3 separate regions of the Homo sapiens genome follow, and all the other regions are linked to region 1. The links are contacts of gene promoters, found by promoter capture Hi-C in human tissues and cell types (Jung and others, 2019). All regions are on one chromosome and are shown on one strand. The core of a region is centred on a gene start or on the middle of the fragment in contact, and the rest is flanking DNA. Distances in the headings are between cores, read along the strand shown.

Region 1 (3,912 bases), core at 421-2,920:
GAAAACTTCATCTTTGTGGAGACTATCACAGGACAAGAGAATGCGGGCTCCATCATCCACGCCAATCAGACAGTGCTGGGGGAATGTATTAGAAAGTTGCCTTTCTCAACCTCATATTCTTAACGCTTGTAAATAAAAACCCCTCCTCTTCGGTTTTCACTTTAGACCAGGAAATCTGGGGAGAGTTGGCAAGCAAGGTTTTGCACTGTCGGCATATGTCATGCTAACACTGGCTCTTTGCCCCTTGCCTCGGCAGGTACCACACAGCGCTGGAGAAATAGGTACACAGGTGCCTCCCCAGCCAAGGGAAGAAAGCAGTAACGGAATTTGGGAGTCCAACCCCAAATCCTTTCATATTTACCTCTCACAAACACTTGCCTTGTAACGTGTGTACCTGTGCGTACATTTACAGGTAAAGACAATATTTTAAGGCAAGTTCACATAAATGGCTTGGAGATATCTGACAGGTCTGATTATACAAAGGTCTTCTGCTCCACCTGCATCTCTCAGGAACTCAGGCAAAGGTGGCCTTCCATCCAGCCGCACCGCCATCCGGCAGGGGAGGGCACAGGCACCCTCCCACCCGCATCCGCCCCCGCCCCCTCGCCCAGCAGCGTCAGTCTCTGACCCCACTGGATCCGTACAGGAGACGACTCACAATCGGTCGGAAGCTGCTTTTGCCCCCCCACCCCACCGCAAACGGGGGTTTGCTTGGATCATTTATCTATCTTGTGTGCATTAAGAAACCAGCATTAGCTGCTAGTGGGAGGCGCTACTCTGCCCGAATCCCAGCCCGCCGCGGCGATTCTGCACACACACACGCACCAGCCTGGCAGCCAGAGCCCGTCTGGAGACGCCCTCAGCCCGGGGTCTGCGTTCCCCGGGACCCCCGACGCAGTCTCCCGCTTCCGTCCCCCACGCTCAACCGGGCAGGGCGCCGGGGCGTGATTTCCGATCCTCTGCCTGCTTGTTGGGTCCCTCGGAGGCGGGTCAGACCGCACCCGCCGCGGGCGCCCGGTGCGCCCCCAGCCCCTGGCTCGCGGCGGCGACAGCGGCGCTGTTCGCTGGAGTTTGACTCTCCGGCGGCGGCGGCAGCGGCGCGCAGCAGCGAACGGCTGGAGCAAGGCGAGCCGGGCCGCTAGCCCTCCGCGCTGCGCTGGGATTGGTCTCTCCAGAAGAGTGCTGGCCGAGGGTTGGCTGCGGGCCGGCTGAAGAACAGGTGCACCTCACCGCCCGGGCTCGCGGAGCAGCCGCCGAAGATCGCGGCGGCCAGGCAGGCCCTCTGTGTCGGAATGCGGGTGGCGGGCACCCGGCACCCCGCGACCGGCCGCCGGGGCCACTGAAGGCGGCGCGAGGCCCAGGCGCGGCGCGAGCGGGCGCCCCAGGGAGCGGGCTGGGCGCGGTGCCCCGAGGATGTCGGCGCTCCTGGAGCGCACGCAGGCGGCGGGCAGCAGCAGCAGCAGCGGGCGCGGGGACCCGGCGCGCAGGAGGCGGCTTGGAGGGCTGCAGACGCGCCCCGCCGCTCTCTGACCGACCGGAGGCGCCGGGGGCCCGTCTCGCCCCTCTTCCGAGCTCCTTACCGCCCCCTCCCCGGCCCCGTCCCCTCCCCCGCTCCTCTCCTCCCCGCCCGCCGCCCGCCTCTCGGGGGGAGGGGCGTGGGGGCAGGGAGCGGATTTGCATGCGGCCGCCGCGGCCGCTGCCTGCGCCCGAGCCCGCCGCCGCCGCCGGAGCCCGCGCCCGCGCCCGCGCCCGGCCCGCGCGGCCCCATGCCTCTGCCGCGGCCCTCGGGGGGGCGAAGGTGAAGACCGGCTCCTAGGATGAGTGAAGGGGCGGCCGCTGCCTCGCCACCTGGTGCCGCTTCGGCAGCCGCCGCCTCGGCCGAGGAGGGCACCGCGGCGGCTGCGGCGGCGGCAGCGGCGGGCGGGGGCCCGGACGGCGGCGGCGAAGGGGCGGCCGAGCCCCCCCGGGAGTTACGCTGTAGCGACTGCATCGTGTGGAACCGGCAGCAGACGTGGCTGTGCGTGGTACCTCTGTTCATCGGCTTCATCGGCCTGGGGCTCAGCCTCATGCTTCTCAAATGGATCGTGGTGGGCTCCGTCAAGGAGTACGTGCCCACCGACCTAGTGGACTCCAAGGGGATGGGCCAGGACCCCTTCTTCCTCTCCAAGCCCAGCTCTTTCCCCAAGGCCATGGAGACCACCACCACTACCACTTCCACCACGTCCCCCGCCACCCCCTCCGCCGGGGGTGCCGCCTCCTCCAGGACGCCCAACCGGATTAGCACTCGCCTGACCACCATCACGCGGGCGCCCACTCGCTTCCCCGGGCACCGGGTGCCCATCCGGGCCAGCCCGCGCTCCACCACAGCACGGAACACTGCGGCCCCTGCGACGGTCCCGTCCACCACGGCCCCGTTCTTCAGTAGCAGCACGCTGGGCTCCCGACCCCCGGTGCCAGGAACTCCAAGTACCCAGGCAATGCCCTCCTGGCCTACTGCGGCATACGCTACCTCCTCCTACCTTCACGATTCTACTCCCTCCTGGACCCTGTCTCCCTTTCAGGATGCTGCCTCCTCTTCTTCCTCTTCTTCCTCCTCCGCTACCACCACCACACCAGAAACTAGCACCAGCCCCAAATTTCGTAAGTAAACACTGTGTCTCAACTATGATTTACTACTGAGTTTCCCTTCTGCCCTCCTGCTGTCTTTTTCCCTCGCCGCCTGTTTTCTAGCAAGCCCCCTCCCCCATCCCAGGTTTGGGGCAGAGTGAGAGCTGATTAAAACTGGCCACCAGCGGGGAAGAAGGTGCCAGCCTGCTCTGGTTCTGGGGGGGTGGGGGCGTGTAGGAACGGGAGGGAGATTGTCAGGCTCCACTGGCCCCACTTTAGCGGGTCCCAAGTGAGAACAGATCTCCCAACTCCCTTCAAAGGGTTAACGCGAGTGCGATCCCTCCTCACTGCAGACCTGCTGGCGAGCTGCCGGATCCCGCTCCAGTAGAGGGCCAGGGAGGGAGAGAGGGCCTTCCCGAAGGCACTGAGCCCCTTCTCCGCCCGCCGGTAGGAAGGAAAGAAAGCAAAGCACATGCAAATTGACCGACGATAAACCACAAAAGGAAGTTATGTCCTTGTGTGGGGTGACGAGTTGATGGAGATAATGGTAGAATGTTGCTGAGGACGCTTCCAGCAGCCCTGACCTGGGCAGGAACCAGAAAGGGTTAATTAGAAGCCACTGGGAGACTTGGGGAAAGGAGGCGATCCAAGGCAAAGGGCTAAACTGACCTCCTAGCCTGCCTGTGGCCATTCCAAGGTGTAGACATAGATTCTGTGACCGCCGAGAGTGAGTTAACTAGGAGGAAATATGAAGGGAGCCCTGCAGAGCTGCCACCTCTAGGGTCCTGACGAAGGAGGAGTTTTTTTCAGCCCTGCCAAGCCTTTGCTTTTGTTCCGTTCCCAAAGGTGGGGTGTGAACCTTATCTCCTCTCCCTCTGTGCCTGAAAAATATAGACGAGTTGAGAGTTTTCTGCACTCAAGGGTGAGAACATCCAACCGTTTGGAAACATGTCACCGTTAGAATGTAGCATCTTCAACCTGGGCTCAGTATGAGCCAGTATACCCAAAGCATGATAGCTTTCTGTTTATTTGTATAGAAAGTGCGTATTTTCTCAACATTTTTATAAATGTTGTAGGTGACTAATTGACCTCCCACCCCAACCCCCACCTTGTTCTTATTCAAAGGAAATCTCAGGTGTCTTTTAAGCTGATCTGATCAGGATATGGGAACAGTTTGTGCAACCTGTGAAGGTTATTTAGGACAAACCCCAGGCTGCTAGTTCAAGTTCTGTGCAAGGCTATTTTGCAAAAAACTGTCTGGTTATGCTGTCTTTATATTGTATTTGTGTTTTGAGCCATAGCATC
Region 2 (3,804 bases), core at 940-3,439, 1.0 Mb after region 1:
ACACAAGACCATGCAATTTAGTTCTAGATTAATTCTCAATCAGCGATCTTCTTTCTTGAGATTTCCTCTGCTTAAGCAGTAGCATATAAAAAATGGTATTAATCTAATGAAGACTTTTTTTTTTTTTTTTTTTTTTTGAGACGGAGTCTCCCTCTGTCGCCCAGGCTGGAGTGCAGTGGCGCGATCTCGGCTCACTGCAAGCTCCACCTCCCGGCTTCACGCCATTCTCCTGCCTCAGCCTCTGGAGTAGGTGGGACTACAGGCGCCCGCCACCACACCCGGCTAATTTTTTTCGTATTTTTTAGTAGAGATGGGGGTTTCACCGTGTTAGCCAGGATGGTCTCGATCTCCTGACCTCATGATCCGCCCTCCTCGGCCTCCCAAAGTGCTGGGATTACAGGTATAAGCCACCATGCCCGGCCTAATGAAGACTTTTTAAAGTTGAAGTTTCCAGTTCACTTAGTAGTACTGAGGGTTAAAGGTGTTAAATATTAATGTTTCCAACAGGATTGGAACACAGCTTAGGGAAGTCAAGTAAATTTGCTTATCCAGTGAGGTCGCCTGTCTTCATGTTGCATTCACTCTTCTAAGAAGGATTTCATCCCTTTTTTTTTTTTTTTTTTTTTTTGCATGAGAATTGAAGCAGAAGCTTGTGCTGTATTGAAAGTATATTGAATATGGGCTCCGTTTATTGATGAAGCTTTCAAGCACTCACCAGTTAGGAGGCATAGAGGAAAGAGAATGAATGTTCACTATTATATAAGTTATGGGCATGGTAGGTGACTTCACAGGAGTTATCACATTTTGTCTTTTGAAGTTACCAGGGATCTTAAATATGTGATGTATGAAATCGCCATAACCTGAGTGACCTAATCTTTGGTTTGGGGAAAACTGCTCCTGTCTTCATTTTAGTATCCTTGGGAATACCAGATTTGGGGAGCTACCTAGTATGTATTCAAGAAAGCTGTCCATATTTAGAGTGCGCACGAGTGAGACTGCCATTCGTGGAAGAGAAAGACATAGAGCTTCAGGGCACAGAAAGTTAGTCTTTTAAAAAAGCCTCTTAAGGGAATTTTTTTCCACTATATATGTGAAGAAATAAGGCTGATGAAAGTAAAAGTAATATGCCCAACTGATAAATAGTAAAGATGAATAATAATCCAGATCAAAATGTCTCTAAAGCTTGAACTATTCCCATAATCCTTCCCTAGGAGCATAATATAAAATGGTGTGTTTTCTCCAAATATGATGATATCCTACTTTGTGCTGGGCTCCAAGCACACTGGGCCAGGGCCATAACTACACTCAACTAGGCCCTCAGCTGTAGAAGGTATATCATGGGTAGGCTGGCCAGATTTAGTCAATAAAAATGCAGGACACCCACATAAATTTAAATTTCAGAGATGTAACAAATACTTTTTTAGGCTAGATATGTTTTGTGTATTGCATGAGGTGTATCTATAAACATCGTATTTGTTGTTTACTTGTAAAGCCATTTTTGAGTATTTTATCTGGCAACCCCTGCTGTAGGGCCATGAGCACAGTAAGGAGTGGCTCCCCAGTGACCCACTTCTATCTCACACTCCAGTTCCCAGGAAGGCTGAATTAGAGTTAATATGAGCAGTGCAGGAAGATAAGCAGAATTAATGAGGAAACTTAGCAAAAGGGGTTGGAATAAGAGTGTGCTTTGTGTCCCAAGGGACAGCTCTGCTTGTTACACGATGAGAATTATGCACAAAATACTAAACTGTTCCCAAATTACCTCAGCAACTATGGTTGTTTAACAAGGCAAACACAACCTGCAAGCTCATTGGTTCTGGGCAGGATGGATCCTGCTGTCAGAGCAACTGATGAACTATTTTAAAGCCAAGTTCCTATTGTGAGTGAAATAGATTAACACTTCAGATATGGATGCTTCAAAAAACAAATAGCAGCATGCTAACTTAGTTAATGAGTTTTTGAGGAAGAAAGTAGCATTTAACTTACCAAAAGATGCAGTTCAAGGCTATATTAATGAAGTAATAACAGCTGTGTCTTTATCTGTTCACTACCCATTCATTTTCTCATTACATTCAGACTGCTAACTTCAGTCACAAACATGCTTGTATGAGAATATGGGGCCTTTTGTTCCTACCAGAAAATAATCAAGATGTCTATCTTCTAGAGTTGTACTGTATCATAGAAGTGATTCAATGATTCTGCTTTTCTATTTCTGTGAGAAAAAGGCATGCTATGGGATTCAAGCACTGTAATAAACACACACACACACTGAAGCCAGGTGGACATTTATCAAATTTTGACTTCATCTCCTATATGCTGTGAGACATGGGCTATCTGCCTAGCTATATATCTATGTATTTATGTATGTGTGTATGTATCTATCTATATCAATGTCCACCGCTGATGGTTCATTAATATAAAGATTGATGATGTAACACCCCACATATGCATTTCTTGACATACAGGCATTCAAACTATGTTTTTCCTTTCTTCATTTCCTAATGTGCTACACTGTGTTTTCCTGGTTTACTGAGTATGCCTGTGTGTCCAGAAACCCTCAAGGACAGAGCTGTGTGCTTTAGGAGTCTTCCTCGTTTTTGCCCCTGGAACAGTGCCAAATACTATAGAATTTTAGTTGCATCTTGCCACACCACCTGGCTAACCTCATCTCATCTACTCATGCCTTTCTCAACCATTCAGAAGCACGTTCTCTTCTTTTAACACGCCGTGATTGTCCATGCCCGTCTTTTCTGCATGTGATTTCTATGTGCCATGACACTTAAGACTTACCACCCTTTCCTAATACATCGTTCATGCAGATCTGCATTCTTAGTGTATAAGGCGCTTATGTGTTCTACTGTAACTTTGCTAGATTATGGTGTCACCATGGTTTATGTCTGTCTTACCCCAAAATATTGTGAAAGACACAAACGACATTATCTCATTCCAGTCTCAGCTGGAATTTCAAATCCCATTGTCTAAATCAAATCCAGGTGAAGATGAGGCTCTTCACATGTAGTTCCTTAAGCTTTGGCAACATGAGTAGAGTTTTCTTGACGGTAGATGTGTTAACTAAAGAGACAATTATCTGTCCCACATACACCTAACATGCAATGGCAGACAAGCAAACAACATTATAGACATTTCTGCTCAAAAAGGATGGTGGAGGGAATGGAAGGCACTGTCCAGTGGAAGAATCGCTGGTCCATAGCAATAATGTCACCAAATAAGGCAAATGTTGTAAGTTCCTTGTTTAGGTCTCAAAAGTGATATCACACCACTTTTGCCATATCTTATTTGTCAGGAGTTAGTGGGTCAATCTCACATTATAAGGAGATGGGGTCCTTGAGGGCATCTTAGAGATTGTCTACCACACAGTTTCCCAGAGCCTTTGGCTAGTTTGTGTAGGACTTCCATATGCCACAAAGGCCTGTGTCACACATTCTTTTGTGTTATCTTCTCAATACTGCCTGTTTAAGGTGGGTAACAGTTACTACCAACAACTAGGACCCCAGGAAAAGCTCAGGTTTAAATACCTGACAAACCAATGATTACATTAGCTGCCAGTGGATACCTCTGTGTGGGTGATTAAGACTATTATTCACCTGTAAAATATTCATACCTCTCTCACAGGAATGTGGTTAGCATAAAACAAAATAATCTATTTGGAAGAAAACAAGCATACCCTTTCTCTAAAAATATTTACTTTTATAAGTTTATGATGCTCTCAATGTGTAGAAGACATCGTTTCAAATGTAGTTACATAATATGTTGATGTATGCGGAATGTGCTATATAAGAAGGC
Region 3 (3,823 bases), core at 898-3,397, 1.1 Mb after region 1:
AGTTTCTTTAATATTACATGCTCTCTTTCCCACTGTGGGTTCTACAGATGCTGTTTGCTGTGTCTGAAACATCCTACTGTTCCTCTCTCCACTTACCAACTAAGCTTTCATCTTTCATCCTCCACCTAATCTCTACTCTCCTTTCAGGATCATCAGAGGTATTACCTCTTACAAATATCTTTCCCTGCCTTCCAAATCCTGTCTCCAAAGCCTGGATTATGTACTTATTATAGGTTCCCACATTGCACTCAGTACATTGTCTCCACCCTCTACTAGCTTGGAAAAATCTGCGAGAGCAAGAAGTATGTCTGTTCATGTTAGAGTTACCTCTAATGCCTGACTTGATACCTGACAACATAGTGTTGCTCAATCAATAATTGTAAATACCTGAATTATTAATGCATGAATAAATAAATGATTTGGTAAATATACAAATGTATGTATTAAAAACAGGAGAGAAAGAAATGGAAATATTTGTATAACCAGAACATCAGGCAATTAGCATTAGGAAAGCTTTTTTTTTCTTGTTTAAGTAGGTTAAAACAGGCCTTAAAAGACAAAAAATCGTGGAACATTAAGATCTCTCTCCTTTCCCCCCTCCTCCTTCTACCTGTGTGTGTGTGTGCACGCATATGTGCACTTGTTAAAGGTAGAGAGAGGGCCGGGCACAGAGGTCAGGTGGGCGGGTTGCTTGAGGTTAGGAGTTCAAGACCAGCCTGGCCAACATGGTGAAACCCCATCTCTACTAAAAAATACAAAAATTAGCTGGGCATGGTGGCAGGCACCTGTCATCCCAGCTACTCAGGAGGCTGAGACACGAGAATTGCTTGAAGCCAGGAGGCAGTGAGCCGAGATCATGCCAGTGTACTCCAGCCTGGGCAACATAGCGAGACTGTCTCAAAAAAAAAAAAAAAAAAAAAAAGGTAGAAAGAGATGGTGAGAGAAAATTGTTGGCAAGATTCCAGTTTCTTTCCACTAGAAGGCAGAAAGCACTAAACAAATGTCAAGGCAGGGACCTAGGTTTCCAGAACCCAAAAGGAGCATTGGGAGTTTGTCACTGAGACCTCAGAGGCAGAGCCCAAGACCAGAACCGAACTATTACTATGCGGACTTGATGTTCAATGAATCAATCGCCTAAGTATCCCTAAATGCTCCACTACCCTGTGCCTCTCTACAAACCCCATTATAATTCATTCCCAAGCCATGATCAGAATTGGCTCATCAGTTTGTGCGGTGGTAATGAGGAAGGGGTAGGAAGTTGGGATTCAGTGGGTCTACCATAAGGCAGAAGAGGAAGCAAATCAGACACATTCCAATGATATTATCTGTTTGGTTTTGCCCATATCTGATTTTCGAAGTCTTCTATGTACTGAAATCAAATATCTCACATTAAAAAAAAAAAAAAGCTTTTAAAGATTGTAGGTTGACACAGCATAGAATATCCCTTCCTTCTTCTAGACCAGTAGCATTCAAAGCTACCTGGTAGTGTAATTAAGATTTTACATATTTCAAGCTTCTTCACTGTAACTCACAGCAGCTTGGAAGGTAGGAGTAAGCTTCATGACAATGATCCTCTGCATTTTGATGGGTACAAGCTGTTCTTTGATATCATGGACACCCCAGCTTTTCAAAAGAAGATTCTTGGCTGTTTAGCAGTTCAGCCAATCCATGTAATTGCTTTTTCCATGTTACATAAGAGTAAAAGTCTCCTATAATTATAGGGATAAAAGAGACTTGATACTTTCCAGATCACCAGAGCAGGAAGAAAGAAGAAAAGCATGACTTTTTGGAGTGATTACTCATCACATGCCAGACACAATGCTGAAAACTTTGTATCCATCATATTTTTATGCCACGAAAACCCTGTACAGAAGACATAAGCACCCCCATTTTACAGATGAGGGCCCTGAGACTAGGGGAAGACAAAGAATTCCTCAAAGTTAGTTTACTTAGTACAAATTAGAATTGGTCTTTAAACTGACTCCAAGGAGGATGGCCTTTTTTACTCTACCACATCCCCTCTCCAACACTATTGGTTTGATTTTCTGTTACAGAAGTACAGGAAGACAGTGTTTCTTTTCTAGCTATGCAACAATGACATGTGGTGGTTGAAAGCATGGCCTCTGGAGCCAGACTGCCTGTGACCATTTACTTTTTCTTGAACTTGAACTTATACTTTAGTTTCTCTGTGCCCTAATCTTCTCAAGTGCAACTGGGGTTAATAATGGTCCCAGCACTGTTGAAAGGACTAAATGACTTTGCACCTATAAAGAGCTTTGTATTTTAAGTGCTCCATAAATATTCATGTTGTAGTTGTCATTGCTATTGTTGTTGTCTGTGAGGCCTTTTCACAGAGGCATGGCCTCGCAGAATAGGGACAAGCATGCTTTAATGCTACTCCTGTCTTCTTAATTCCCAGTAGCAGAAAAACTGGAAGACTCCTTTGCCAAGGGTTATTATTTTTTAATCAATCTACGTAGGGTTTATACATAGATGATGACAGAGAGAGGTAGGTACAGTTATTTATAGCCTGTGAGTCATTATGAAAAGTCACTCTTTCTTTGCTTGGTCAGAGCAGTGAGAATACATATATCTGCAACTCCATGTGTGTAGAACTAGCAGCTTAAACTGGAAAGATGACCTATTGCCTTAGTCTTTCCCAGAGAGAGGCTTGCCCTACACCCCCTTTTGCAGCCTGCCCAGGCTAATGCAACTAGCGATGGCAAGGCAAGCAGGGCAGGCTGCCATGCATTTTAGGGGATTTGAGCAGTCAGGCAGATCATTCAGGGAGAGATTGTTTTAAAGGTTTAGCTAAAAGCCATTTATCCACCTCATTTCAAGCACAGTATTGGCTCCAAAGTACAGTTGGTCCTCCATATCCATGGGTTCTGCATCCATGGATTCAACCAACTATGGATAGAAAATATTTGGAAAAGAAAACTCCACCAAGTTCCAAAAAACGAAACTTGAATTTGCCATATGCCAAATATATCAAATCCACGCTAATGAAGTGATGTGTAGGCATTGTATTAGGTATTATAAGTAATTCAGGAATGATTGAAAGTATATAGGAGGATATGTGTAGGCTATAGGCAAATAACACACCTTGTTGTATAAGAGACTTTAGTAGCCTTCAAGTTTGGTATCTACAGGGGATCCTGGAATCAATCCCCAAGCATATCCAGGGACAACTGTGCTATATTGTGATGAAGTTCCACCACTTAGCTTTATAGCTGAGGACTACAAGCTCCAATTATCTTAGGGAATATTCTGGTGACCAAATAAATAAAAACTTTCTAAAAAGTGATAGTCACTTGAGCATCCAAGAAGTATCTATCACATCCTTAAGTCATTCCATTTTCCTTTATATCTCTCTGGGTGAGCCATCTTGTCCTGAATACAATTTGTAATGCCGGGTAATTACTTCCTGACAGAAATTTCTTCCCATTTCATTCTCTGTGTGTTAAGCTCATTTGATTACAACAAACAAAACAAAATTCAGGGACATTGATTAATGCAATAAGAGCAAAATAAGTAATTAAAATTAACAAGTTTCTAACTTTGAGGCCTGGCCTCTCTCACAGAGTCTGTGGCAATATTAAAGTGTGATTCTAGCAGAATAAAAACAGTTCTTGTCTCCTGAAATGTGAATAATCCTCAGTAGATCTGCCTTTGGATTGGACATCCATTGAACATGTCTCAACTGCACTGTGTCTCTTTGTCTTTATTTTCTTTATCTTTGGGTCATTCCCCCAATTCTAACTGACCTTTGTTATCCTTCTGGTCTCCAGTTTAGTTTTCTGGGAAGGGCTCTCCCTGGCTC

The links. The method cuts DNA at HindIII sites, captures the fragments that hold promoters and counts their contacts. A contact is called where the count stands out against the background at its distance.
Region 2: a contact is called between a fragment that was not itself captured here and the fragment with the promoter of NRG3 in region 1, in 1 of the 25 tissues and cell types used here (dorsolateral prefrontal cortex).
Region 3: a fragment that was not itself captured here is called in contact with the fragment with the promoter of NRG3 in region 1 in 1 of the 25 tissues and cell types used here (hippocampus).

What each region holds. Positions count from the first base shown.
Region 1 is chr10:81,873,524-81,877,435 of GRCh38, forward strand. It overlaps NRG3 (neuregulin 3), which reads left to right and starts at 1,671. Exons shown (of 9, transcript NM_001010848.4): 1 at 1,671-2,640. The coding sequence starts at 1,818. It overlaps LOC124902549 (a long non-coding RNA gene), which reads right to left and starts at 995. Exons shown (of 2, transcript XR_007062377.1): 1 at 826-995. RefSeq lists an enhancer at 2,620-3,382. The HindIII fragment of the contact is 10,350 bases long and covers 1-3,912 here.
Region 2 is chr10:82,879,354-82,883,157 of GRCh38, forward strand. The region is part of intron 4 of NRG3 (neuregulin 3); the gene reads left to right. Among named protein-coding and RNA genes, the nearest start is that of NRG3-AS1, 650 kb to the left of the region's middle. The HindIII fragment of the contact is 3,031 bases long and covers 675-3,705 here.
Region 3 is chr10:82,923,188-82,927,010 of GRCh38, forward strand. All of the region lies in intron 4 of NRG3 (neuregulin 3), which reads left to right. Among named protein-coding and RNA genes, the nearest start is that of NRG3-AS1, 690 kb to the left of the region's middle. The HindIII fragment of the contact is 5,311 bases long and covers 1-3,823 here.